Linked DNA regions of Homo sapiens: regions 1, 2 and 3 are each linked to region 4. The links are contacts of gene promoters, found by promoter capture Hi-C in blood cells and fetal thymus (Javierre and others, 2016). All regions are on one chromosome and are shown on one strand. Each heading gives the region's core, a stretch centred on a gene start or on the middle of the fragment in contact. The rest is flanking DNA. Distances are from core to core; before and after follow the strand shown.

The links. Contacts are between HindIII fragments. The CHiCAGO score rates a contact against its expected background, and 5 or more counts as called.
Region 1: a contact is called between a fragment that was not itself captured here and the fragment with the promoter of FAM53B in region 4, in 1 of 17 cell types (total B cells). The highest score is 7.5, in total B cells.
Region 2: a fragment that was not itself captured here is called in contact with the fragment with the promoter of FAM53B in region 4 in 5 of 17 cell types (naive B cells, total B cells, neutrophils and 2 more); the score reaches 12.3 in naive B cells.
Region 3: a contact is called between a fragment that was not itself captured here and the fragment with the promoter of FAM53B in region 4, in 2 of 17 cell types (naive B cells and total B cells). The highest score is 7.0, in naive B cells.

The regions. Positions count from the first base shown.
Region 1 is chr10:124,079,007-124,081,950 of GRCh38, forward strand. All of the region lies in intron 1 of CHST15 (carbohydrate sulfotransferase 15), which reads right to left. Among named protein-coding and RNA genes, the nearest start is that of CHST15, 13 kb to the right of the region's middle. The HindIII fragment of the contact is 3,880 bases long and covers 1-2,944 here.
Region 2 is chr10:124,009,754-124,012,720 of GRCh38, forward strand. CHST15 (carbohydrate sulfotransferase 15) reads right to left here. Exons shown (of 8, transcript NM_001270764.2): 7 at 2,580-2,727; 8 at 1-586. The coding sequence ends at 396. Among named protein-coding and RNA genes, the nearest start is that of CHST15, 82 kb to the right of the region's middle. The HindIII fragment of the contact is 4,917 bases long and covers 1-2,967 here.
Region 3 is chr10:124,103,368-124,106,459 of GRCh38, forward strand. No RefSeq gene overlaps it. Among named protein-coding and RNA genes, the nearest start is that of CHST15, 11 kb to the left of the region's middle. The HindIII fragment of the contact is 4,592 bases long and covers 1-3,092 here.
Region 4 is chr10:124,743,021-124,745,805 of GRCh38, forward strand. It overlaps FAM53B (family with sequence similarity 53 member B), which reads right to left and starts at 1,358. Exons shown (of 5, transcript NM_014661.4): 1 at 993-1,358. RefSeq lists silencers at 237-316, 407-616, 937-1,096, 1,147-1,256, 1,277-1,326 and 1 more. The HindIII fragment of the contact is 7,750 bases long and covers 1-2,785 here.

The sequences.
Region 1 (2,944 bases), core at 410-2,909, 660 kb before region 4:
GACTCTGAGCAAGCATTCAGCATGTCAATACAGCCACAGCTGCCTGGTGTAGGACTCATGTGACTTGGGAAGAGATGCTGAATGAACAACTGGAATGATTCTAAACCAAACTACTCAGAAAAAAAAATTTCTTTTATCTTTCCATTTATTAAAATGTAGAAAAATTTATGTTTTGTCCACCATTTAAAAATTAGTCAACAACATAAAATGGAGATGTATATTACTGTCACAACTACTGACCAATATTTATTGGGAAAACTTTGCAATGTGACAAAGGATCACTCTTAAGGATGTCTGGGGAGACCAGAAAGAGATTTAAAGTTTATGAAAATAACTGATGACACAATCCGTTGAGGCCCTACTGTGTGTCAGGTTGACCAGCTGGTGTCTTGGGTGTGGTTTCCACAAGAAAGCCTGGCATTAACACGTCATTAACAAGGACGGACTCCATGTGGTATGGAGCAGTCCAGGAGTAGACAAGGTTCAGGGTGTCCTGATGCAGGACCTGGGAGGCCAGAGTGCTGCCCCATGGAGACCACGGTTACCCAGGTTAACAGCAGGACCTGGGATGGAGAGGCAGCCTGGGGCCCACTCCCTCGCAGGTAGGGAGGTGGCTGCAACAAGAGGACAACCAACAGGAGGGCCCTCAAGAAACAGAGGTTCTTACTGACGAGGAGACAGAAACAGCTGGAGGCAGCACCAGGAGGGAGGAAGAACTTCCCCTTGAGGGGGCTCAAATCCTGAGCAAGGGCCAGGTCTCTGTCACAGCCAGGGCCGGAAAGCAATGCTTAAAGAAGAGGCCAAATCAGCAAACAGTTTTCCATGCCTCATCCCCCTCCAAAGGGTTCCCGCTCCAGGACCTAGGCTGCATGGAACTGTCACCAAATTCAAGTTAACGGCCTGTGTTCACCTTTGGGAATTCACAGTCCTATTTCGGTCTTGTTTTTATGAGTGTGGTTTCAGCTGCCCACCCCAAGACGTACCCCCTCAAGCATGTGCTTACATAAAAATAACTCTGCCTCCCCAGCCAAGCCCTTAGTGAGAGGACAGGGATGTTGGGGTTTTGCTTTGTTTTTTGCTAGCCCTGTTTTCTGAAACTCTGCAGCAGCTGCAGGCCAGCGAGCATCGGACAGGTGTTCTTCACCCAGAGACGGGACGGGGAGAAGGCAGAGCTGCAAATGTCAGTGCAGAGGATGCAGAAGAGAAGAAAATCAACCCAGGCGTCCAATAAACCAAGTCTCTTTCTCCCGAGCATAAATGAATCCCATCCCATCAACAGGTTCTCCCCTTGGGGTCCTGGCACTGACTGTTCCCTCCTTCCAAGCATCAGACAGCAGCACCCTCTGAACATTCAAGAATCAACGGAGATGTCACCTTTGTGGAAAGGCCTTTCCCGCACACCAGCTGGTCACTCCAGCACATGGCCCTTATGCCTGTCTATTCTCTGATATTTGCGACCTTGTCTGCTGCCTGTCTCTCTCCATGAGGATATGCCCTCTGTGAGCACTGGGACCCTGTGTGTCTAACTCACTGCTAGATCCCCAGCTCCTAGAACAGCATGGGGTACACAGCAGGGCCTCAATAAAGAGTTCTTTTCACTGGAGGGTGACTCTCAAGAGGATGTGCAGAGCCTGAGTCAGAAGAGTTGAAGACATTGAAGGGCCAGGCTCCCCAATGTTCTTCTTGATCAAAGCTGAAGGATTAGGGCAAGTCACTGACTTCTGCAGGCCTCCGTTTCCCCAGCTATAAACAGACGATCTGAAAGACACTCACCATCCCTGCACTATGGGTCAAAGTTTTCAATTATTCACTATACTCTTGCCTGTTTTCCTTTCACCCATCTGTCTGTCCATCGGCCCAATCATTCTTTCCCATGGACTAGGCCCTGGGGATGCCACGTTGAATAAGACACATTTCCTGTTCTGAAGGAACAGATAACCTTCCAGTGGCAGAGACACAAAGGAAGCAATTCTGCACTGACCAGCTATCTGTCAAAGGAGACTCCTGGGCCTCCAGCCTGGGCCACTGTGGGGATGAGAATGGGGTCCTTCCCCAAGAGAAAAACAGATCTAAAATTCCACCACTGCTACCAAGTGATGAACAATGTGTGTTAGTTACAATCAGGGAATCTGAACATGAAACTCAAAGACAGTCACAAAGTCTCATCACAGATTGAGGACAAATGAGGCTCATTCCTGAGACCACTGTGCTAATTATCTGTCCCTTATCTTTGCCATAGGAGAACTGGAAATTCTCATTAGAAGAATGATTACAATCACTGCTAAGTTCCCTCAGCGTTTCTTAGCTAAAGAGCTTAACGAATCCAGGTCCATGCATGCACACACATGCACGCATGCACACACATGCACGCATGCACACACACACGCGTGCACACACACACAAATGCCCAGCATCCATCCCCGGAGACTTGATGTAACAGCTGATGTAGGACCAAAGTATGTGCATTTCTTTCAATAAGCTCCGTGGGGGTTGCAAAGCGGCACCCCTGATTTATAGCCACAGAGTTTCTGCCAAGTTTACTTCTTATTACAGTTGTAAAGGTGCTTTAGAATATCAGTGATAACAATGAGATAGATATCCATAAGGATTTTAACAGAACTTTCCTAAGCACAGAGAACACTCCAGCCACAAAACACTTTTATCTACCTCATCAGAGCTAAATGGTGCCTGGAAACATAAACGCTGGAAGGACCAGCCTGAGGACACAGCCGCCCTGTGGGACCACACCCCCAGGCCATGCAAGAAACCTGGCCCAGGGAGATCTCCCGGCCTGGTCTCCACATATTTCTTTCAATGCTTTCACCCAGCGTACCCTTGAAAAAACAACTTCCTAATGTATCCTGGAGTCACAATTACAGCCCCTTGCTTATTACGGGCTTGGCCAAATCAGATAAAATTTCATTCTCTGAATTGGTTCCTAATT
Region 2 (2,967 bases), core at 254-2,753, 730 kb before region 4:
TGGCATGACCTCTGGCTTGCTGACTCAGAACCCAGAGGCTCTCCAGAAGGCGGAGGCGGGCAGGGCCAGGCTGCCTTCCCTAGGTGTTCTCTCCACACCCAGTGCAGGCCAGCTGGCTGCATCCCCAAGCTCCAGGACGCTCAGAGCAGAGCTGAATTCTTGAGAAACTGGGGTCTCCAATGGCCTCGGATAGAGGAGCTCTGTGAGGGGTCCATTGCTGAGCTCTCGAACATCACGAAGGAAATTCCAAAATGGTTATAATTCATGTGTGCCTAGAGTGGCAGAGTCCTGGGGTTTTCCATACCATGAGTGAAACAGTTCCCCGCAAAGAGATTTGTAAAATCCTGATGATGACGGCATTGGCGGGCCCAGCACGTGCAGCAACAATTCAGCTCTCACGTCGTCTTCCACGCAAACGCCTCATCCGCGAGGACCTGCGCCAGCCTAGCGTTGAAGGGCCTGTAGAAATCCCGCAGAATCTTCTGTGTGATGGGCCACATGGGCCCCAGGTTCCGGTCCTCGGGACGCCGTGCATTGGATGCGGGGCTCTTGGTCATCAAAGCCTCCTGCTTCTCACTTAAGGGCCCTAGAATAAAAGAAGACGAGTCCCGTAAGGCAGGAGGCATGGCAGGAAGTAAAAGGGACTTTGCAAAAATCCCAGCTATGCTTCGTATTCAGACAGGAGTTTCCTTTAAGAGAACATATTTAGGGATTAAAATTCTTTGGCTGGATCCATTTTGGAAGCACTGAGGGAGGAAGGTGGAAACACCATCAGGAAATTGCGAAGAAATTCTGCGGCGGGTGCAGGATGCCCACCCTCGGGGGAGCCCAGCTGGCATTTAATGATGATACAGCGTCTAAGGCTGACCTCAAGGATTCCCTTCCAATTGCCCTTGGTGGGCTGCTCTCCATGGGTGTCAGCCCGTCCTTGGAGGAACGTGCGGCCTGCCGAGCACAGCCCACGGGTTTCGGTTTTCCTGCTCAGCAGCCCTCTGGAATTCCGCCATCATCGTTTCTACTTCAGGCTGCTCATGCCAAGGTCCCTGGGCCTGCACAGTTTCACCCTGTGCGTCTTGCTGTGAAGTGGCCATAGGGAGGAGGGCTGGGAGGAGGCCACTTGTGCCCAGAGCCCCCACTGGCTGAACCTCCATCTGCAGCAAGGAGATCAGGGAGAAGAGGCCTGCCGGCAAGGGCTGTCAGTCACCCCCACGCCCCGCCCTCTGGAGTGAGGCGAGGCCCTGGAACAGGCTGGCAGAGGTTGTCAGTCACCGCCACGCCCCGCCCTCTGGAGTGAGGAGAGGCCCTGGAAAAGGCCGGGAGGGGCTGTCAGTCACGCACACGCCCCGCCCTCTGGAGTGAGAGGCCCTGAAACAGAACAGCAAGGGCTGCGACCCCAACGCCCCGCCCTCTGGGCCACAGCTTCTTGGTGTAACCCATCACTGCTCAAGCCTCTTTACCGGGGGCTCTTGGGATCTGGCCAAAGTCCTTAGCCCATAGACAGAAAAAGCATGTCCCAGCATCCTAGGGCCATATGAAACACAGAATTGGCCTTACTATCCATCTTGGGGACAAAAGACAAGCTCATTAATGGGACAGAGTCAACATGTGGTCAAATCAAAGAAAGATGATTCTAAGCCTTGGAAGGGAAAGAACTCATCAAACTCCAAAAAAAGGAGAAACAAAATCAAATGATCAAAGAGGCCCAAGTCCCAGTGGCAGGCAGATATATTTTCAGAAATACTCAATTAACCAAGTTCCCGGGCAAGACCATTAGTCAGGGCTGCAGGAGGCGTTCTGGGAAGGAGGGCGGCTTGTTCGAGCCTGCTCAGCCTTTCAAGCCATCCCTCGGTGCCCCGTCCACATGGGCAGCACTCGCTCCGCCAGCACATGCCTCTGCCAGCCATCACCATAGTCAGCAGTGTGGCCTGTCACCACAAAGTGACTCTCAGGCCCCTGGGGGGGCTGGTATCCACAGGCTGAGGGCAGGCGCTCATGCCCCAGGGGCCCAGCATCCATGATCAGCAGCCAAAACTCAGCCACACGGCTCTGACTCCTGGAATTTCCAAGAATACCGGAGATGATGCAATGATCTGTCTGTTCCCTCCTCTAAGCCCCAAGTCCTCTGCTCCAGCCCCCCGGTGACATCCTGTTGGTCCTACAAAGCTCAGCTCTCAGGCCCTTTCCTTCCATGAAGCCTTCCTCATCCGTGCAGTAGCTGGGATCCCAAACCATCAGCACATACCTTACATGACAGTGCTGACCTTCCCCACGGCATCCTACCTGTCATTCAGTTAGGTGAGCTATGGCTTCCTCCTCTCCCTTCACTAGACCATAAGCTCCCAGAAGGGAAACCATCTCCTTCTCTCCAGAGAATCCCTCACCATACTGTGCACAATGACCTATGTACAGCTAGTGCTCAATAAATGGTACTTAACAGGCCTCCTGAAGGACATCCCCAGGCCTCCCAGCTCAGCCCATTCCCACCCAGCTGACCAGGTCTGCATTTGCCCCAGAGGACTCCCAGAACAAGTCCACGGAGCTCATGCTTTGGCCCGTCAGTCTAAGCACCACACTCATACCTAGGTTCAGAAACTGGAAGACCTTGTGCATGGTGTACTTGACGTTGGATGCATGATCTTCCAGGCGAAGAATGAGAAACTGTTGCTTGTCAAAAACGCTGAGCCAGTCCAGAAGGTACACAGCATAGAGCCCAACCTGGAGCCTCACCTAGGACCACAGAAGAAGGGCATTATTTCAGGAGCAGTTGCCCCAACACCATAGGGCACTTTTCCAAAGTGGTATGGCATTTCACTGTACCACAAAAGAGTTATCCTAGCAAAGTTACTTTCAGAAGCTGGATTTTAACACAAGGTGTTCTTGCTTCTTTATGGGGGGTTTTGTGCTACATGTGCAAAGAATTCCTATATTAGGGGTTGCATTTCATCCTCACAACACCCTGTGGGTAGC
Region 3 (3,092 bases), core at 89-2,588, 640 kb before region 4:
TGGCTCTGCACCAATGGCTTCCAGGTGCTCCAGCTAAGCTGAGCCTGCAAGGGTTTGAGTAGGACTGAGAGGACACTGCCCCGTCTACAAGCTCATGCAGTTGGCAAAATGCACACAGCTTTGCAGGAGTTGGGATGGGACTCATTGGCCCTTGAATCAGTGCCCTGTTCAGAGTACCATCCAACCCAGAAATGGGCCAGATGCTGTCTGAGAATCCCACCCCAGCAGACTAGAACCAAACTGGAACCCAGGGGTCTCCTCCAGGATCCTAAGGGCCACCTGTCACCTTGCTCCAGATTTGCATGTTTTTGCTCCAGCAGCATATGCCAACAAGGACTGCAAACATTTTCAGATGACAGTGTCACAATTACAATCCTTGGGGCGGTTTGCTATTTCCTGTTTTCTCCTTTTATTCCCAAGCCAGGCCAGGCTCTATCACGGGAGGGGGTAGAGGGGTGATGGAGCTGAGACTAGGACAAAACAGAGGTGGAGCAGGGCCTACAGATGGGGCACAACTCACAGTGGACACCACCTTTGATGGTGGACACCACCTTTGATGGTGTCCCTGCTGCCTGGGGCCACCTGCCTCTAAACATGGCATCACAATGACTTCTCGCTTTGGAACAGAGTTTGCAAAGGCTCCAAGGCTGGTGTTATATTGTCCCCTAATGTGGCCTTCAGGTCTCTCCTAGGAGAGCAGCTATAAGCTCTAGCCCTGCCCTGACAGCGCTGCAGGGGAGGTGGTTGTGTACCTTTCATGGGATGCTTCTTTGCCCTGGGGAACGGCTTGATTGAGGCCTAAGTGTCTGACCCATGACCAGGTGTCCCTGTCCTTTGTGCTGGCAGATGCCCTTGTGACTCTTGCCTGACTTGTGTCCAGTTTATTCCTACCAGGACAGCCACTCTCTAGGACAGCACTGAGCAAAAGGGAAGGTAGATTTGGGTGTGTCAGTCAAGTGAGACACAGAGGAGGTAACTCAGCAAAACACATGAAATAACAGAACCAGGTGTTATTACTTACAGGTCCCAGAGAGAAGAGGGCAGCATGCCTCAGGGCCAGCGGGCAGCAGGGAGCTGTCTGGGGCACACAGGCTCCACCAGCACGTCGGGAGCAGGGCCGGGGGGACCCATGGGCCAGAACCTTTACTGGGGTCCAGGGCCTTATCTAAGCAGGTTTCCCATGGGAGTTATAGCTGGTGGGTTTAGAGCAAGCAGGCACACGTTCCATGGGGTTGCTGTGGTAGAGAGGGGGTCGCTGCGGCATATCTGCTCAGTCCATGCAGTCTGGACGTCAGTGGGGTGAATCGAGTAGGCTGTACCCAGCTGTCCCATAGGTGGTGGGGGACATGGTCACCAGGAGGCCTGGTATAAGGCAGAGGTCTGGATCAAACACATTGAGGAACTGGGAGGAGCCAGAGAAGTGGAAACTGTCAGGTGGGTCCAAGCTCTACCTCTGGTCTGAGAAAGTTAAATTTATATTCAAAATGGATGCTGGGGCAACATAAAATTCTAAGAATTCAGTCCAGGTGGAGACTCTGATCAGGGGCTACCCCCTCACTATCCCCATGCCTCTGGGGATATCTGGCCTCTGGTTGGGCCCCGGGTGGTGGCAATTTTCCAGGAGGCAGGAGCCCAGCCTCTGAGAAGTGAAGGAGTGGAGAAGGACATCTCCTGGACCACAGAGGCCCCCAGGCACTGCACCATGTGTAGGGCTGGCTTCTGTCCTTCCAGAGTGGGAAGCCCCATTGTCTTTACCAAGATGAGGAGGCCGTGCCCAGTCGTCCTCCGAGCCAGGTACTTGTCTGCCTCCTGCAGGTGCCCAACAGGGGCTGTGTTGGAGTCGAAGCTGAAAGTCACCCTCTGGCCCCATCTGCTAATTATCTGCCTCCCCCAGGCTGGGCTTCTATAAGTCCTGGGAGTGGAGCACCAATCTCTTCCCAGCAGGGAGCACATCTGAACCAGCCTTCCAGCAGGCCTTCCCCATGCCTCCAAGGCACTCAGAACTCAGAAGCCGATTCCTTCAGGATCTGCCTCAAAAGCAGCCGAGGGGGGCTTCTCTCTCCCCACAGGAACCACTGAGGCTAACACCGTCATCCCACCTCTTGTCCTCAGGCCAAACAAAGTTGTTACTTCCCTGGCTGCGATCAGGGTCTACAGCTGCCTCCTCAGTAGGAGTGGCTGTAAAAACAATTATTTCTTCTTTCATCTCAGTCAGAAAACTAAGCCGATAGTTGAAGAGGCAAAGAATCAAATATTAATAGAAATGGCTGTGTAATTCTTATTTGGAATATTAATTATGTGAAGGGAAAGACAGACGAGTTCTTTTCTGTGAAGTCCTAGTGAAGGAGCTCTCCCCAGTCTCATCAAAAAGCCTAATACAAATAAACAAGGTCCCAAGGCTGAACAGGACCTGCCCCAGGCAAAGTGCTGCAGTAGCAACACACCAAAAATAATCATGCCGTAAGTATCTCTGTGCAAACGCACTTATATTCATGCAGTTCTTTGGGCCCTGGTACCTATCTCTTAAAGGTTCGTGTAGGAAATATTAATGCCCCATTTTATAAGTGAAACAATAAGCTCAGAAAGGGGAAACCTCTTACCCAGGGACTCACAGCCGATAAGTCATAACTGTATCAGGAAGGATTGAAATCCGAGTCCAGCGCTCTCCCTGCTAAAGCCCCTTAACTTCGAAAATCTTAATCTCACAGCATCCCTGGGTCTACACCTTATTCGAACCATTCTATAGAAAAGGAAACTTGTATTTGAGAGACAGCATTGCTTTTGACCCCTTCCCAAATCCCCCGTAGCATCCGTCCACCCACCCATTCCCCGCTGTAGCTTCCCAGCACCCTAGGAGCCTAACCCATGTTTCTCAGGATCAGAACCCATGGGGTTGGTGCATCCGTGTGTGTTTTGCAGTCCTCAGGCTTTCCAGCTCAGTATTTAAAAAATATCAACACACCAAAATCACAGAACACAAGGTTTCCGCACCTTGGCAAATTCCCTGCTGACTCAGCCAGGCTGGGAGGGAGCCAAGTGTGGTAACTTCTCCGGCCTTGTGTGAGAAATATTTATTGTTGAATAGTCCTCTG
Region 4 (2,785 bases), core at 108-2,607:
GTCCGAACGCGAGGGACCCGGGCAAACCTGTCCGCGCGGTTCGTCGCTGCTGCGGCGCCCCGGCCCGTACTACAAGCATTGTTCCCCAAGTCCGAAAATGGGGGTGGAGAGCTGGGGGCTGGGGGACAAGGTGGGGGGGCGGGGGGAGCGAGAACACACTTGGGACAACACAAACCGCAAACCCTCCCCGGATTCTGGGTGTCCTCGTTTCTTTCGTCTCTGCCCCAAGAGAAACCCTGAGCGGGGAACCTGACTCCCACGGGCTTGCAAAATCCAAGACTAGCAAAAATGTGACTCGACCAGTGTGCCTGTGCCGGACGGCCCTTCTCGCCATGTGCAAAAGCCACGCCGGCGCGGACGCCCCCACTCCGCAAGCCCCAGCGGTGGCCTCCCCGCGGGCTTCCCCCGCCCGGGACAGAATGCCCCCTCACCCCCATCCTGACCGCCCCGGACAGTCCAGCAGCAGCGGAGCCCGCCGCCTCGCTCCCGCACCCCGGGGGTGGCGGGTGCAAACTTCCGCGAACAAAAGAGTTGTCTGCAAACGATGCGGGAACTTCGGGGCGAATGGGGCCGCCCGGCTCCCGAGACTCCGCGCCTCCTCCGCAGCGGCTAGTCAGGGCTCAAGTTGAGACGCGGAGAGGACACCCCCGGGCGCAGCAGTCCCCGCGCCCGCCCGCCCTGGCCTGGGGAGCGCAGACTTTTCCGCCGCAGCCAGGCTTGTTCTTCCCCATGCCTGTGCTCTGACAAGTCTCACGCCTGCATCAGGGGCGAGACCGAGCGCCCGGAGAAACCGCCCGACCCAACCCAAAGGCGAAACAAGGCAGAAAAAAAGGAAACCAGCAACATTAGGAAAAAAGAAAAAAAAAAGGCAAGCCCATTGCGCACGCGAGCCGGGCTCCCTCCAGCCAGCGGCCGGGACGCACACGGCCCGGACCTCGCTCGGGGCCAGCCCCCCGGCCACCGCCGCCGCCGCCCGGCCCCGGGTCGCTTACTGTGCGCGGCGGGGCGCTCCGGGCGCGGACCCCGCGCCGTCACCGCCAGCGCTCGCCAAGTCGTCCGGGGTGCCCGCCGCGCGTCCGCCGCGCGCACGCTCGCCTGCCGGCGCCGAGCGCTTTGTACGAGCGACTCCCGGGGAGGAGGAAATCGACTTGTCACTTCCTGAAGTGTTTGCAACTCGTCCCTTTAACCGGCACCGGCCAGGCCGCCCGCACCCGCCGCCGCCGCGGAGCCGCCAGACCGCGGCTGCGTGAACTCGGCCCGGCGCTTAGCGGGCGGTGTCGCGGGCCCGGGCGCTAGGCGCGGCGGCGGCGTGCAGGAGGCAGGCGGCGTGCGGCGGCGGCGGCAGGCGAGTGTGCAGTGCGCGCAGCCGCCGATGGGCGGGGAGTGAGGGACTCGCGGCGCGCCGCCGGCGGGGCTAGAGGGCGTCCTGCGGGCTCAGCCGCGCGCCGCTCGCCGCGCTCGCGCCTGCGAGGCCCCGGGACGCGGGAAGTGGCCCCGGGCCTGGGCCGCGCCACCGCGGCTGCCCGGGCCCCGCGCCAGAGGCCCTACGGGCTTCTCTCCCCGCCCCCAGCACGAGCCGGGATGAAAACGCTGGGCCGCATAGGCTTCAGGCGTCCAGCTTCCGGGTTGTTAGATGCCGAGGTTCAAAAGAAACGATCACTTCAGTGGCGTGCAGGACAGCGGGCGGGTGGGGTCGGGGAGGGGGGACCTTAAAGTGTTGTCACACTTTGGGAAAATAAAGCGCAAATTTCCTAACTCGGGGCGCTGTGACTGTGTACTTCAGAAGCCACATCCAAAATACATGCAACTGGCGAAGGAAGGATTTGTGGTTGCTAAGCAGAGGCAGAGCATGTTTAGTTCTGTAACTTAGGATGTTGACTTAAGTTCAGGAATGTAACCCTGATAGAATAAGCAGAGTATTTTCATTGTGCTGCTCACCTGGGGGAGGGGGATTGTTTTCCTTGTGAAGCCCTAGATTTCCCATTACTCCTTCCTACTGGTGTATGTTATTTTATTGACCTTGTATCCAAAAAGCGATTTTTAAAGAGAAGTTTTTTTAAAACTCCCTATGCCTGTTTTGTGTTCTCCTTTGCCAAAAAAACAAAACACCTCATTACTTTACATGGATTGTGTCTGCGCCATTTGAATGGTTCTATTCATAAATAAGGAAACTTTTTCTGTTGCTTCTAGGAACATTTAATTGGTTTTAATCCAATGTTTCAATCCCAGTATCAAACATAAATGAACAATTAACTTCTTGAGCTTTGTGTGCTTGGGAAACTATTATATTTCATGGCTATTGCTGAAATATTTCAGAATATCATCACACCGGACCCATTCTTTTCAGAAAAGCATGAACTGACATCTCCTTTCACACTACAGCTCGCTCCACTGAGTTCTGCTGCATGATTAGAATGGACAGCAATCAGTGGAAAGGATATGAGTCTATTCATTTCAAGTTACATGATGTGGGATAGAGTCAGTTCATCCTAGAAAGCCAAAATGAGCTAACATACAGAATACAGCATACTAAGATATTGATATCCTTACCCATATACGTTGCTTTTTAAAAATGCATTAAGGACCAATCTTGAAAGGAACAAGATCCAAGAACCGATGGTGAACAAAAGAAGGCCCAAGGAATAATCTAAGAATGCTGCTATGCTTAACGAAAAGAGTCAGTGTTTCCCTAAAGCCATCTGATATCACACAATCACCTCAGCCTTTCAGAGCTTTAAGGACAGAGTTTAATTTACTAACGTTTTATTAGGAAGCCTAGAGTGAC